Regions from separate parts of the Homo sapiens genome. Here all the other regions are linked to region 2. Evidence: promoter capture Hi-C in human tissues and cell types (Jung and others, 2019). All regions are on one chromosome and are shown on one strand. Each heading gives the region's core, a stretch centred on a gene start or on the middle of the fragment in contact. The rest is flanking DNA. Distances are from core to core; before and after follow the strand shown.

Region 1 (4,845 bases), core at 1,431-3,930, 48 kb before region 2:
CCAGAGTTAGCAAAGCTATGCTTTATCTTAAAGATATATATGTGTACAAATATATACATACAAGAATGTTCACTGCTGATTACTCGCCATACTAAAGACTGGGAACAACCTAAATGTCCTTCAAATAAAGATTGATTAACTAATTAGATGATGGGGACACACATGGATCTATTTCTGTACTGTCTGGTTTTATTCCTCTTCTGGTCTCTGGGTTTATCTGTAGTTTTTGTTAGAATGTCATTCATTGTGTATGAAAAACTATAAAGGCCCTGGGTGATGTTATATTCCTACAGAGGATCCACCATCTTCTCTGATAGGCAGTTAGAATGAGGGGGCAGATCACTTCACAATCCAAACATGACATGAGCTGACTCAAAGACGGCTGCAGTATAAAGCTTCTACAGCTCATTCTCCCCTAGTTTGTAGCCCTCCAAGGATCCAACTGAGATCAGTGTTTCCCGAGCCTATCTTCCTTGAAAGATCATGAACTTTTTCTCCTCAACACTGGAGAACTGTTAGAGTCTGCCTTGCTTTTCAGTAGCTTTCTGTGAGGGTTCTTAGCCTTTTACCCCGCACAGTTAACAATCAGCAAACACCCTGGGAGCTAGGTAGCGGGGAAGTAGGTGGAGAGGGCAAGAGGCTATACATCTCTTCTCTTTGGGATCTTGGACCCTCAGGTTCTGGTTGCCTTGGCAGCTCTGAACTACAATTTTTGTATCCTCAGTCTCATGAAGAAAGCACCACTGACGTTTTTGCCTCTTAATAGCTGCACTCTCATTTTGCCAAGAATCCACAAATGTCTGAAATCCTGGCTGCCTTGGCAACTTACAATGCCTTCATATAGATTTTTTTAAATCAAGCTTTTCTAGTTATTCTCAACAGGAGTTTTTGTCTGCTACAATCTGCTTCATCATAGCCAGAAGCAAAATCTACATATTTCATAAGCAGTGGAGAAGATAAGATTTTCATGATGAAACTACAAGCCAAAAATTAAAACCATTTTTTAAAGTATGAAATGATGCACATCATAAGGCAAGCGTGCATACATAAGTAAATCTGAGGAAAGGAAAAAGGATCAATGAGGCTGAATTCTTAAAGGCAAGGCTTCCTGGAGGAGGTGAATTATGTTAGGCATTAAGAACAAGTACTAGTGAGGAAAAAGCCATTTCTGGCAAAGGAAACTTCACAAGCAAAGGCAGAAGTGACTATGTTGTGTCAGATAGACTGGAATAGGGTGTGTGGGCAGTAATGCTGGATAGATGAGATTTGAAGATGTAGTCACCATAGATTAAGAGAGTAAAGAGGGAATGAACAGCGAGGAAGAAAACAAAAGTAGAGAGCATTCTTTGAGAGTCAAGAAAGGGACATAATAAAAAGCAGAACATGGGTGATTCAAGTCCTAAATAAGTTTACAATCTTACAAAGAAAGGAAAAACATACTTGGGTGAAACAACTATAGAATGTCAAAAGAGTTATAAAACTAAATACCTAAGTACTGCAAGAGGTGGAGGTGCACAACAGCGAAAGGCAGGCAATGAAACAAAGCACATCTTTTACAATGAAACATATGTTAAGTGCAAAGATACACAAGAAACAAGGCAATTATCCATATTAATCTCATATTTACCTGCTTAGCCGGGCACAATAGCACATGCCTGTAGTCCCAGCTACTCAGAAGGCTAGAGTGGGAGGACTGCAAGTTTGAGGCCAACCCCAGGCAAAGTAGGGAAACCCCATCTCCAAAAAAAAGCAGCCAATCAAATTTACCTGCTGATACCATCCACTAAACCTTGAACAACCACTGTCAAATGAAGTAAGTGAAAGGAGAAACTTTAATGTTTAAAATAAATGCACCATTTAAAAGTAGTAAGGTAGAAATACAGGAGTGAACCACAAATGTATTCTAAAACCAAACTATTGTAAATAACTTTTTTTTGAGAAGAAAATCAAATCAGCTAGAATTGAACCCCCCCAAAAAATAAAATAAAATAAAAATAAAACCAAACTAAAGTGTTTCCCATTTTATCTACTATTTTTTGGTTTACTCCTTCTGATTCTCCAAGAATATAGATGATAGCCAAGTACCGACTGTCTTAAACAAATGCAATTTTCACCTACCCCCTTGCCTAAGACAAGTAACAGTTTACAACAGGCAATATAGAGTGTTTACCTGGGAACAAGAGGAAATACACAGAAAGAAAGTTGAACTGAGCTAATAAAATTTAGTATCAAATTTTAAGGCTGCTCACTTAGGTTCCATAATTTACACCACCGATTACTACTATGGTAGTAGTAGTACTACTACTACTGTGTTTTTAAACTATTCTTTGGCAAAGTACTAATCAAACAGAAATGCCACAGCCCACACAAGAACTTATGAAATGCTATGTAACATCTGATCTAGTAATTTAATTTCTAGGAATCTATCTAAGACAGTTATCTGAAATATCGCAAAACTTTTACATAAAAATATTTTCATTGCAACATTGTTAACAACTGCAAAATAAAAATCAAGAATAATTTAACTGTCCAATACTGAGAAAATGGTTAGGCTGATTATGGACAGACCATACACTTGTACTATTATTCAGTCACTAAAATTGTATACTTTTAATAATACGCAGTATTGCTTTCATAAGATGGGAAACTGCTTAAGTTAGTGAAAGATGCAAGTCACCTGTATGGTAAATGCACCTGATAGCAATAACTTCAGCATACCCTGAGAATAACCGATATGGTGGACACATCTGAATGTGTGTTCCAAGCTAGGGAATCTGGGAGTGGCCAACTCAGAAATTCATTCCTTGTCTATGAGGAACACCTGAGCCCCTGTCCAGTGGAACATGGGCCATATGGGACATAGAGGTCCTGACTTTTGAGTTGAATGAAGGGTGCCAGGTGGCGGTTGTTAGATAAAGGCTGCTACGTAAAAATACTATAGAAATTGCAGGCCTTTTGAAAGTGGCGGCAGTTCTCCCGCCCAGCCCGCCACCACTGGAGTCTCTCCCTGTATGTAAAGCCCCCAGGAAAACTCCATGTCTCGTTTACTGGCTAAGTCTCTTCTTTGGCCTCTTGAACCTGGTGCCATCCCCACTGGAGCTGATGGGGTTTGGCACAACATCACCAGATTAAGTATACCTTATAATCTCAAACAAGAAAAACCATTAAACACAGAAACAGCAATAACATACTGGAAAAAGAAACAGTGACATAATCGTAGAACTCACAAATGGAAAAAAAATTCGTGATAACATATCAAGTTATCATATGTAAATGTGTAAGAATGATAGAAACAGTCACCAGAGATTAGTAGGTTAAAGAGGGAATGAGCAATGAGGAAGAAGGGAGGTACTGCAGAACGAGAAAATATAAAAAGAAAGGCACAAAACTCTTTCCCCAAAACATTTATAATGCAGTTTATTAGCTAAGACTAAATCATAAAAAGCTTTAAAAATAGTTTTAAATAACTAGGGAGACGATGACAGATGCAATGTCACAGAATAAACAACTGCCAAATGAATCTTACAAACACACACTGCAGTTAAGAATCCACAGGAGAAAGAGAACAGGGCTGGGAAGGAGAGGCAATGCTTTCACAAGATGAGATGAAGCTGCATCTGGCCTGCTGACCGTAGTTTGCTAATCTCTGGATTAGTGAGAAAGACAAATTAAGACAGTTGAGGCTGGACGTGGTAGCTCCTGCCTGTAATCCCATCACTTTGGGAGGCCAAGGCAGGAGGATCTCTTAGACTAGCCGTTTGAGACCAGCCCAGACAACATAATGAGACTCCATCTGCACAAAAAATTAAAAATTGGCCAAGCATGGTGGTGCATATTTGTAGTCCCAGCTACTCAGGAGGCTAAGGCGGAAGGTCAAGGCTGCAGTGAGCCTTGATTGTGCCACTGCACTCCAACCTGGGCAAAAGAGCAAGACCCTGTCTCAAAAAAAAAAAAATTTAAGACAACCGAGACCAACAGGATTTGCAAAAGCAGGTATAAGAGTAGAGTCAAAGTGAATAAGGTTTCTTGTTGAATCCAGAAATGGCCCCAACAACAAGGCTTTGTTGTTAGGTAATCCGCACTGGATCAGCACAGTCAAAGCAGCAAGAGGCACATGATAAAGGAGGTCACAGAATCAAACACAGACATGGGAATGCTGCTAAGATGAAGGCTTTGGACCTTATGGCCTTTTATCCTAGGCAGACCAAGCCCATGTGGTTGTCCTCACTACCACATCTACCACCACCATGATACAAAATCCTTTGGAATTAAGTTTTGCCCTGCTTGAGGCAAAGAATTATTCCTGTTAGTCCACAAGGTAGAATGATACCAGAATTAAAAAGAATGCAGGATTTGGAACCAGACAGACCTGCAGTCACCTAGTGACTATGTGCCTACCAGTATTTATCTTTGCTAAGCCTGTTTCTTCATTCATAAAATGGGAGTAGCACTTACCTCAACACAGTTGTTTATCTCACCTAATCCTCCAATACCTACTTGGTATAGATTGTGGGCATTCAATGATAAGTAACTGGCCTCCCTGTCTCTTAGACTCTGTCTTTCCATCTATCTTTAACATTGCTTCCCTTTCTTTATGAAGAGAACTGACCCTACCACCCTTCCACTTAATAACTTTTATTGGCTTCCCACTGCCTCCAAGATTTGTAAACAGGACCCAATCTGCCACTTCAGCCAATCTTCTACTATTCCTTCAATAATCCTTTTCTCCCCAGCCCTTACACATCTCCCTATTCCTAGATATGCCATATCCTGCCTCCACTAGGACTTTATATATGCCACTTCCTCCTCCCAGAATGATTTTCTTCCCCTTTCACTATGATTTGC
Region 2 (4,858 bases), core at 1,285-3,784:
GGGAAACACAAAGACTAAACATTGACTTTGCCTGGGGGACTCAGGGAAGACCTTGGAGTGGAGGTGACTCAACTGACCTTTGGAAAGTTAAATGGGATTCACTAGATGGAGGAAGAGAGAGTCCAGGCAGAAGGAAAACATGTGTGAGGATATGGAGGTGCGACGACGCATGGTCAGTTTGGGGAGGTGAGCGGTTGGCCAAAGTGTAGGGTAGGTGGCAATGGTAGATTGGAACTAAAATATGCGTGGTGTTCAATTCAGTGCTGAAAATTTTAGATTTTAACCTATAAATGATAGGAAGTGAATAATAGGTTTTATGTGGGAAAGTGATGTGATCAGATTTGTCAGTAGAAATGATCAGCATAGTTCTCAAGGCAGGTGTGAGGAAAATAGATAGGAGAGATCCAGATTAGGGGGAGGAGACCTGGTAAGAGGCTGTTGGGAAAGTTCAAGTAAGGAATGAAGATGGCCGGGTGCGGTGGCTCATGCTTGTAATCCCAGCACTTTGGGAGGCTGAGGTGAGTGGATCAGCTGAGGTCAGGAGTTCAAGACCAGCTTGGCCAACATGGCGAAACCCCATCTCTACTAAAAATACAAAAATTATAGGTGGTGCATGCCTGTAATCCCAGCTACTCGGGAGGCTGAGGCAGAAGAATCGCTTGAACCCAGAGGCAGAGGTTGCAGTGAGCCCAGATCACGCCACTGCACTCCAGCCTGGGCGACAAGCGCAAAACTCCATCTCAAAAAAAAAAAAAAAAGGAATGAAGTTGGCCTCAACTCTGGGGATAATAGGGATGGACAGGAGGGCTGAGATGGTGGAGGCCTTTTTTGAAGTATGATGGGCAGGATGTAGGGGAACCCATCTTAATCCACTTCTTACATCTAAGACATGAATATATGTGCACAGCACATTTTAAACAAAGAGAAAGGAAAAGATCACTGTCCCAAACCCTTGGGATGAGATTGTTTATGCAATTAAGCAGCACAGGATTTAACTCTGAGATCCCTGGAAGCAAAGGCAAAAAGGGAAGCATGGTGACATGCATAAGCTTGCACTATCTGTTAAAATAAAGAATACTCAGGGGAAAGGAAGAGACTGGCCAGATTAGAGTAGAAATTAAGCCTGAAGGGCACTGGACAGATCATGTTTGTCCCTGATCCTGAGAGCCCTAGGAAGGGCCAGTTTGGGGATCACTGGTTCCTCCTACTGCTCTCTTTTGGAGGGTGGAGATCTTGGGGGTAATACCCTGAAAGCACAGTGCAATGGGGAGCCCAGCCTTGGCCCAGAAAGATACCTTTACAGCCAGCCAGCCAAGTGTTTAAACCCGGAAATATGATTCCCTACCAGAGTGGGATATGGCTCAACATCCCTTCCCACCTCATACTCCTCTGGCACTCTTTGGAGTCTCCATTAGCTCTTCAAGAGAAGCTGGGCAGAAAGTTGAGGTCCAAAGCAAGGATAGATGTATTTACTCAAAGTGGCCCAACAAGTTACGGATGGAGCCAGGACAGTGACTCTGCCCTTTTGATTTCAGAGCTTGTGTGTTTCTGGTCTGGCCAGAGCTGGCTATTCTCTTCTTAGTGTCCTATTAGTGCATGTGTTCATTCAACACAAGAGATGGAGCACCATTTGAGGGCTGGAGGGTGTCAGGGCCCTGTCCTCAGGGAGCTCCCCTTCTGGTGGGAAAGAAAACTCTTTGACAATCAGCTCTCCCTAAAGATGACTGAAGGTGACCATCACTCCCAGAGAAGTGCAGGCCTCACCTGCAAAGGCAAAGGAGAGATCTTGCCTTGATTCGGGAGTGGGAGCGGGGAGCAGAGGAAGACCTCCAGGGGAAGGCACAGGATCCCTATGGGCTGACTTTCCTGAGAATGGCGCATGGGCAGACGGAGTGGGGACAGGGGCCACTGGTATTGTAGGCACCTGGAATTAGGACCCCTTCTCTTTGTGGGGTGAGTGTTTCGACGTTCATTACCTTATTTCATCTTAGCAACACTCGTGGGAAGATAGTAGAGATATTTTAAGATCTTAAAATGCCCATTTTAAAGCTGGGAAAACAGACTCTCCGGTGGCGTGCTGTAGACCACAAACTGAATTAAGAACGCCAGTGTTCTGATTCCATCCATCTGCGGAGTTCCGGGCACGCACCGCCGAGCGCCTTACCCTGAGCCTTCCCGGTACCCGCAGCCCCGACAGCTCAGCCTTCCCCACCTGAAAGTTCCACCTGAGGTCTCCCTCAACTCTGCCCTCCTGCATTCTTGGCGTCGCGGGGAGTCAGGGGTTAAACCCCGTGGCCCGCGTGGCCCCTTCCCCCTCCGCAGCCCCCTCGCCTCCACTCGGCGCCGCGCCTGGAGCGTCCGTCCCGGAGACCCGCACAAGAGAGGAGGGGAAAAAGTGGGCCTGTTTCTCGGGTGGCCAATCCACCGAGCCCGCGGTGCCCCAGAGGAGGCGCCAGCGCTAGGCCAGCGCCAGGCCGGGCTGCCTGCTTCCCGCGGCAAAGTACAAATGCGCCCGAGCGCGGCGCCTGAAGCCCTTGGCGAGCACAGCCGGCCCGCGCTCAGCCTCCCTCCGCGGCCGCCGCGCCGCCGCCGCTGCTGGGACCGCCGCCCCGCCGGGCCCCAGGCCCCCGCGGCCCGACCCCGAGCCCACCGAGCAGGGGGCGCCGGCCGCCTCTAGCCCGCGCGCCCGCAACACCCGCTGGTCCCGCGCGCCTCGCCCGGCGCTGCGCGCTCGGCAGACGCCGGTCCTCTCCCTGCTTTCTCCTCCTCTCCCTCTCACCTTCCCCCTTTCTTTGATCGCCTCTCCCTTCTGCTGGACCTTCCTTCGTCTCTCCATCTCTCCCTCCTTTCCCCGCGTTCTCTTTCCACCTTTCTCTTCTTCCCACCTTAGACCTCCCTTCCTGCCCTCCTTTCCTGCCCACCGCTGCTTCCTGGCCCTTCTCCGACCCCGCTCTAGCAGCAGACCTCCTGGGGTCTGTGGGTTGATCTGTGGCCCCTGTGCCTCCGTGTCCTTTTCGTCTCCCTTCCTCCCGACTCCGCTCCCGGACCAGCGGCCTGACCCTGGGGAAAGGATGGTTCCCGAGGTGAGGGTCCTCTCCTCCTTGCTGGGACTCGCGCTGCTCTGGTTCCCCCTGGACTCCCACGCTCGAGCCCGTAAGTAGACCGGGAGGCTGGGTGGGCAGAGGAGGGATGCGGCCCCTGGAATGTGAGGGACAGCGCCAGGACCTGGACCCCAAGCTCTTCTGACAGCCGTCCAGGCAGCACCTGTGCCGGAGGGGTGGAGACTCCGTGAGGACCAGTATGGGCCGGGGGACCGGAGGAACTCGGCACAACTCAGAACTGAGAGAGGGCTGCTGCCAGGGACCTGAGGAGGGGCACCAAGGGCAGCGGGGGGAGAGGGCAGGGCACTGTGTTTTGGGTTGGGGGAGGACTTACTGTTCCTAGGAGGGAGTCGGGTATGTCTGGCTACAGGTAAGGAGTGTGATGGAGAAGAAAAGGCTTTTTGCCTTTGGAAAGAGCCATTGGACAGAAATGAGAGGTAATTAGGATAACCTTCCCATTCTTTTCTCTCTTTTGATCCTCGCAACTCTCCAGTGAGGTGGGTATTATCATTCGCACTTTACAGATGAGAAAACTTAGGCTGAGCAAGGAGGAACTTGCTAAAACTTACAGAGCGGGTAAGCCATCCAAAGCCAGAACTCTAGTTCCAGATCCCATGCTTTATTCCCTGCCTCACATTGTCTAGAAGGAACCCTGAATTTGCAGTGTGAGACTCTGGGAGGCGGCAGGGCACAGTGAGATAGACCAGCGTCTTCACCATCCCAGCCCCGCTGAATGCCAGCTGCTGGGAGGCCGTCACAGAGTGCACCTCTCTGACCCTGGGTTTCCTAATCTATAAAGCGGAAGTAAAAATCCTAGGAGAGTTGATAGGATTAAATTAGAGAAAAGAGGTAAAGCAGCTAGCACAAGACTGGTGCTTGATAGCTTCCAAAAAAAATCAGTTCCCAATTATGCTTTTCCACATAGATACAGTGTAACATCAAACAGGTTACATCATCAATCTGAGCCTCAGTTTCCTCACTGCGCCCACAATAGGCTGGTGGTCCCCCCTCCCCATGCCCAGCCAATCTCTTAGAATGCTGTGAGGATGGAAAACCAAACCACATTCTCTTAATCAGAAGAAAGGAGCTTCATTCAAGCAGTGGGTTTCTCCAGGACATACATGGCACAGCCTGGGATTAAGACCCTGCGTTCCCAACTCCTAGTCTGGTGCTCTTTCCTCTCCCCAGCTCAGCTCCTCCATCTATGCCTTTCTTTTGCACGTGACATTCTGGAGCTGGTAGTGCTGGACTTTGTTACGGTCTTGTTTCTGCTCATGAGAGCAGGCTGAGTGTCTCTGGCCTGCCAGCAGCATGAGACTCACATAAGTCTTTCCATTACATAGAACAAGTAATGGAATTAGCTCAGTGTTGTATTCAAATCCTGGCCGTGCCCCTTAGAGCTGTGTGACTTTTTGTAAGTCATAACTTCTCTGAGCCTCAATTTCCTAATCTGTCTAAGAGAGATACTAATCCAGAACTTGCAGGGTTCTTGGGAGGATTAAAGGAGGTAACGGATTAAAGTGCCCAGCACAATGCTGTGTACTTAATAAATGTCTCTTCCGCTTTCTTGAACCCTGAGGGTTTCCTCCTAACACCTGCCTCCTATTTCTTAAAAGAGACTTTGCACAGGATGCCCTCCATGCCTGCCTCCCATCCACTTGACACCTTGTTCTTAGTCCCTGCAATTTTTTCTCCAGATATCATTGCCCTTGATGCATCTTGGAAAGATGTCCTAGAACCAGACTGTTATCCTACCC
Region 3 (4,524 bases), core at 606-3,105, 57 kb after region 2:
TGTGGGAAGGTGGAGCCAGTCCAAAGCTGCCTTTTTATAAGGTAATATTTTGGAACTACTAGACTGTGCCAGGGTTGGGGACCTGCTGATGTCTCTCCTGAGCTCTTCTGGTATCAAACTGTAAAATCACAGCAACATCAAGTAAGCAAAAGCAACATGCATAGAGAAAAGCCTAGAAAGACCTCCTGGCAGGGAGGAAGGAAATATACTGGGTAACAGGTATGCCAGACTTCAATAATATATAGAATATCTTATTTCTTAAGCTGGAGGGTGGGTACATGTGTGTTGATCATATTATTCTTATACTTTTTCATAAGTCAAAATACTTTATTTAAAAAAAAATCCCTGTAATATTGGGTGAATGGGAAGTTAAAAAAAAAAAAAGAAAGAGAGGATAAAAAGAAAAAAAGAAAAAAAATCCCTGAAAGGAAATTTGCTAAAATGTTATCAGTGGTTCTTTGGGAGTATGGAATTATCATGATTGTTATTATTTTCTCTTTCCTTCTGTTATTTTCCAAATGTTCTACATTCAGCAGATGTGGAAAACAATAAACCTTTAAAAATAAATAGATAATCTACGCCTGCTGTGACCATAATTTCAGTCTTCAGTGGAAATTAAACACAAGTCGTTGAGCCACTGCATCCTCATATCCATTCTCTCATAGACTCAGAGGCTCAATAAATCCCCAACCCCGCCATCATTCTCCATCTCTACCCTAAAGCTGGGCTTCTCCAAAGTAAAGCTTCTAATCCTCTTAGGCCCCTAAGCCCAACAACCCTCTAAGTACAGAGGAAATAATTCACTTTATAATAAGAAAGATTTGAGTTTGAAACTTAGATTCAATGCCTACTGGTTGGTCACTTAACCACTATAAATTGGTTTCCCTATGTGAAGACCAAATGAAATAATACATCTAAAGCATTTGGCATTAATTTACAATGCCTGGCCCACAGTAAGTGTGCAATAAATTCATCATTATCATCTTCACTATTATCATCACTGATGACTATGCCTACCACTTCCTCTAGGAAGTGTTCTTGATGCAAGAAATATTTCAGTCTGAATTGGGCACCAACCTGTCCTCCTCCTGGCAAAAGATCTAGGTTCTAGTCTCAACTCTGCTACTAGCTGTGTGACACTGGGCACATTCTTGCCCCTTTCTGCCTCAGTTTCCTCATCTGCAAAATGGAAGGCTTGAGCTTCCTGCCCTAATAGTCTGTGACTAGGGTAATCATATAATTTATTCTTCAAGCCAGAATGTTTTTGAGAGCAAAAGGGCGTACGATCACCCTCAGGATGACAGCTTGAAGCCAAGATAGTTCTAAGCACACTAGAAGTCTGGTCACCCCACCCTCAACAGATCCATTCCATTACCTGCTTGCCCACAGTGTGGTAGACAGAATAAGGACCCTCAAATGGCTGGGTGCCGTGGCTCACACCTGTAATCCCAGCAGTTTGGGAGACCGAGGCAGGCGGATCACCTGAGGTCAGGAGTTGGAAACTAGCCTGGCCAACATGGCGAAACCCCGTCTCTACTAAAAATATAAAAATTAGCTGGGCGTGGTGGTGGGCACCTGTAGTCTCAGCTACTCAGGAGACTGAGGCAGGAGAATCACTTGATCCTGGGAGGCAGAGGTTGCAGTGAGCCGAGATCACACCACTGCACTCCAGCCTGGGTGACAGAGGGAGACTCCGTCTCAAAAAAAAAAAAAAAAAGAAGATGGCAACTTCCTAGTCCCTGGAACCTGAGGATGTTAGGTCACATGGTAAAGGGAATTACAGTTGCAGATCAGCTGAACCTTGAGATGAGATTATCCCAAATTATCTAGATGAGCCCAATATAATCACAAAGATCCTTATGAACTGAGGAGGGAGACAGAAGAGGAAGTGTCAGAGGGATGCTTGTGAGAACTACCCAACCGGCCACTGGCTTTGAGAAGGGAAGGGGGCCATGAGCCAAGGAATGCGGGCAGCCTCTAGAAGCTAGAAAAGGCAAGGATATGGAGTCTCCCCTCCAGTCTCCAGAAAGGAAGGTAGACCCACTGATGCCTTGATTTTAGCCCAGTTAGGCCCACTCTGAACTTCTGACCTCAGGGCTGTAAGATAATAGATACGTGTTGTTTTAAGCCGGTAAGTGTGGTGCTTTTTTTTTTTTTTTTTTTTTTTTTTTTTTTTTTTTTTTTTTTTAGATGGAGTTTTGGTCTTGTTGCCCAGGCTGGAGTGCAGTGGCGTGATCTCAGCTCACTGCAACCTCTGCCTCCTGGGTTCAAGTGATTCTCCTGCCTCAGCCTCCCAAGTAGCTGGGGTTACAGGTGTGCACCACCACGCCCAGCTAATTTTTGTATTTTTAGTAGAGATGGAGTTTCATCACGTTGGCCAGGCTGGTCTCGAACTCCTTGACCTCAGGTGATATGCCTGCCTTGGCCTCTTAAAGTGCTGGGATTACAGGCATGAGCACCGCGCCCATGTGGTGATTTGTTACAACAGCATTTGACAATGAATATGCCCAGTTTGGCTCAGGCTAAGTGATCCCTTTGTTTCTTTTCTTCCCTGCCCCCCTCTTCTTTTCACAGGTGTTGAGTGGGTCCCTTTGGCTGGCTGCTCTATGAATGCTGTCCTTCGTGCATAAGAACTAGTCTAAGCTCCCAAAGAGCTGGATGCTAATCCCTGTCCTGATACTAACTCACCCTGGGACATTAAACAGGTCAAAAAACTCCTCTTGGGCTTTTCTCTCTGTAAATGGAGGCCTTATCTATCTTTGTGTGTGTTGGGTAGGGGGTGGGCTGACATTCAATCAACACTTACCGACTCATTCTATGTTCAGTTCTGAACTGGGGGCTGGGACACCAAGATGAACCAGATCTAGTCCCAACCCCATCCCAAGCAAGAAGTTTAAGAAGCTCCCATTCTGGATGGGGAAATGGTTATGTGAGCAGATAATTCACATGCAATGCAAGGACATAAAGATAGATGATTATGCAAGTACAGAGAGAAATATACAGGCCTACCTGCTGAGGGCATGGTCAGAGAAGGTTTCCTGGGAAAGGTGACAGCACAGCTAGGCCCTAAAGGAAGAGCAGGAGTTAGCAAAGTAGATAAGGAGGGTGGAGGAAGAGGAGGGAAGAGTAGTCCACACAGAGGTAACAGCAACAGCAGGAGCAAAACCCCAGAGATGTGAATCAGCACAGCGTGGGGACGGACGTGCAGGCAGTTTGGTGGTGTTGGCTTGGAAACTGTGTGTATAAAGGGGATTAAGTGGGATGATGGCCAAAGGTATGACGTGAGCATAATAAGGCTGCATTATCAGTCTGTGTCTCCCAGACCAGGGCTGGGACAAGAGATGGTATGTAACCAAAAATTCCTCTTGACCTGGCTTGAAGTGATCTCTTCTAACTGTCTCATCCTCACATTGCCCCCCAGACATGTGCCAAAGGCCTGGCAGCTTCCCCAGCTTACTGCGGGGGATGAGGCCGTGCAAAATTACAGCCACTACGATGAGGCCGGCGTGACCTCAGGAGCTGGGTTTCATCATTCTGAAATCATGCTCCTGGCCTTAGTCAGAGCCAGAGAGGTGGAGGGGAGAGGGTGGGAAAGTGAAGCGGGTGGCAGCAGATTTGGGCGAGGTGCCAGGGCTGCAAAAGGAAGCAGCTGGGACAAGAGCAGGGGGTGAGAGTCCAGCTCAGATGCTGTCCTTCAGGCTGTGTGACCTCAGGCCGGCTCCTCGCCCATCCTGGGTTTCTCTGGGCAGCACAGGTCCTTGGTTCCCAAGGCCTGTTCCCACTGGAGCCTCCTTGTGGAACGCAAGAACCTAAGGGCCCTTTGTCATCATTTCTGTGGATGTGGCCCTCTGTGGGTGAGGAGGAGCTCCTGGCAGGCCTGCCAGGGTTTAAGGCAGGGCCCCACCAGGAGGCTGCTCTGAAACACCCACACTTCCAGGATAGTGGTGCCTTTGTGAATGGAACTGGCTTCTGTCAGGGACAAACCTATAGAGAGATCTCTAAGCTCTGGGTTATGCAGCCCACACTGCCCAGAGGTGCTTCAGAGGTGCTTCCTATTTGTGTTCTGTATCCTCTTGTGTTTTTTAAGCAGTAGTTCCTGGGTGAGGCTGGGTGTATTCATTTGCTAAGGCTGCCATAATAAAGACTGGTGACTTAAACAAGAGGCATGTGTCTCCTCACAGTTCCGGAGGCTGGAAGTCTGAGATCAAGGTGTTGGTAGTGCTGGTTTCTTCTGAGGCCTCCCTCCTTGGCTTGTAGTTGGCCATCTTCTCCCTGTGTCCTCACATGGTCTTCACTCTGTGCCTGTCCGTGTCCTAATCTCTTCTTATAAGGACACAAGTCATAGTGGATTAGGGCCCACCCCAATACCTCATTTTACTTTAATTACCTCTTTAAAGACCCCATCTCCAAATACAGTCATACCCTCAGGTACTGGGGGTTAGGAATGAAATGTGTGAATTTGGGGGAACACAATTCAGTCCATAATCCTGGGCTTTGGGGTCACCACTGGAGCTTTTCTAAACA

Evidence for each region. Contacts are between HindIII fragments. The study calls those that stand out against the background at their distance.
Region 1: a fragment that was not itself captured here is called in contact with the fragment with the promoter of CHRDL2 in region 2 in 1 of the 25 tissues and cell types used here (mesenchymal stem cells).
Region 3: a fragment that was not itself captured here is called in contact with the fragment with the promoter of CHRDL2 in region 2 in 4 of the 25 tissues and cell types used here (IMR-90 fibroblasts, bladder, neural progenitor cells and 1 more).

The regions. Positions count from the first base shown.
Region 1 is chr11:74,776,763-74,781,607 of GRCh38, reverse strand. The region is part of intron 1 of RNF169 (ring finger protein 169); the gene reads right to left. Among named protein-coding and RNA genes, the nearest start is that of RNF169, 30 kb to the right of the region's middle. The HindIII fragment of the contact is 4,103 bases long and covers 629-4,731 here.
Region 2 is chr11:74,729,102-74,733,959 of GRCh38, reverse strand. CHRDL2 (chordin like 2) reads left to right here and starts at 2,534. Exons shown (of 11, transcript NM_001278473.3): 1 at 2,534-3,153. The coding sequence starts at 3,072. The HindIII fragment of the contact is 7,141 bases long and covers 1-4,858 here.
Region 3 is chr11:74,672,152-74,676,675 of GRCh38, reverse strand. No RefSeq gene overlaps it. Among named protein-coding and RNA genes, the nearest start is that of MIR4696, 46 kb to the left of the region's middle. The HindIII fragment of the contact is 7,509 bases long and covers 1-4,524 here.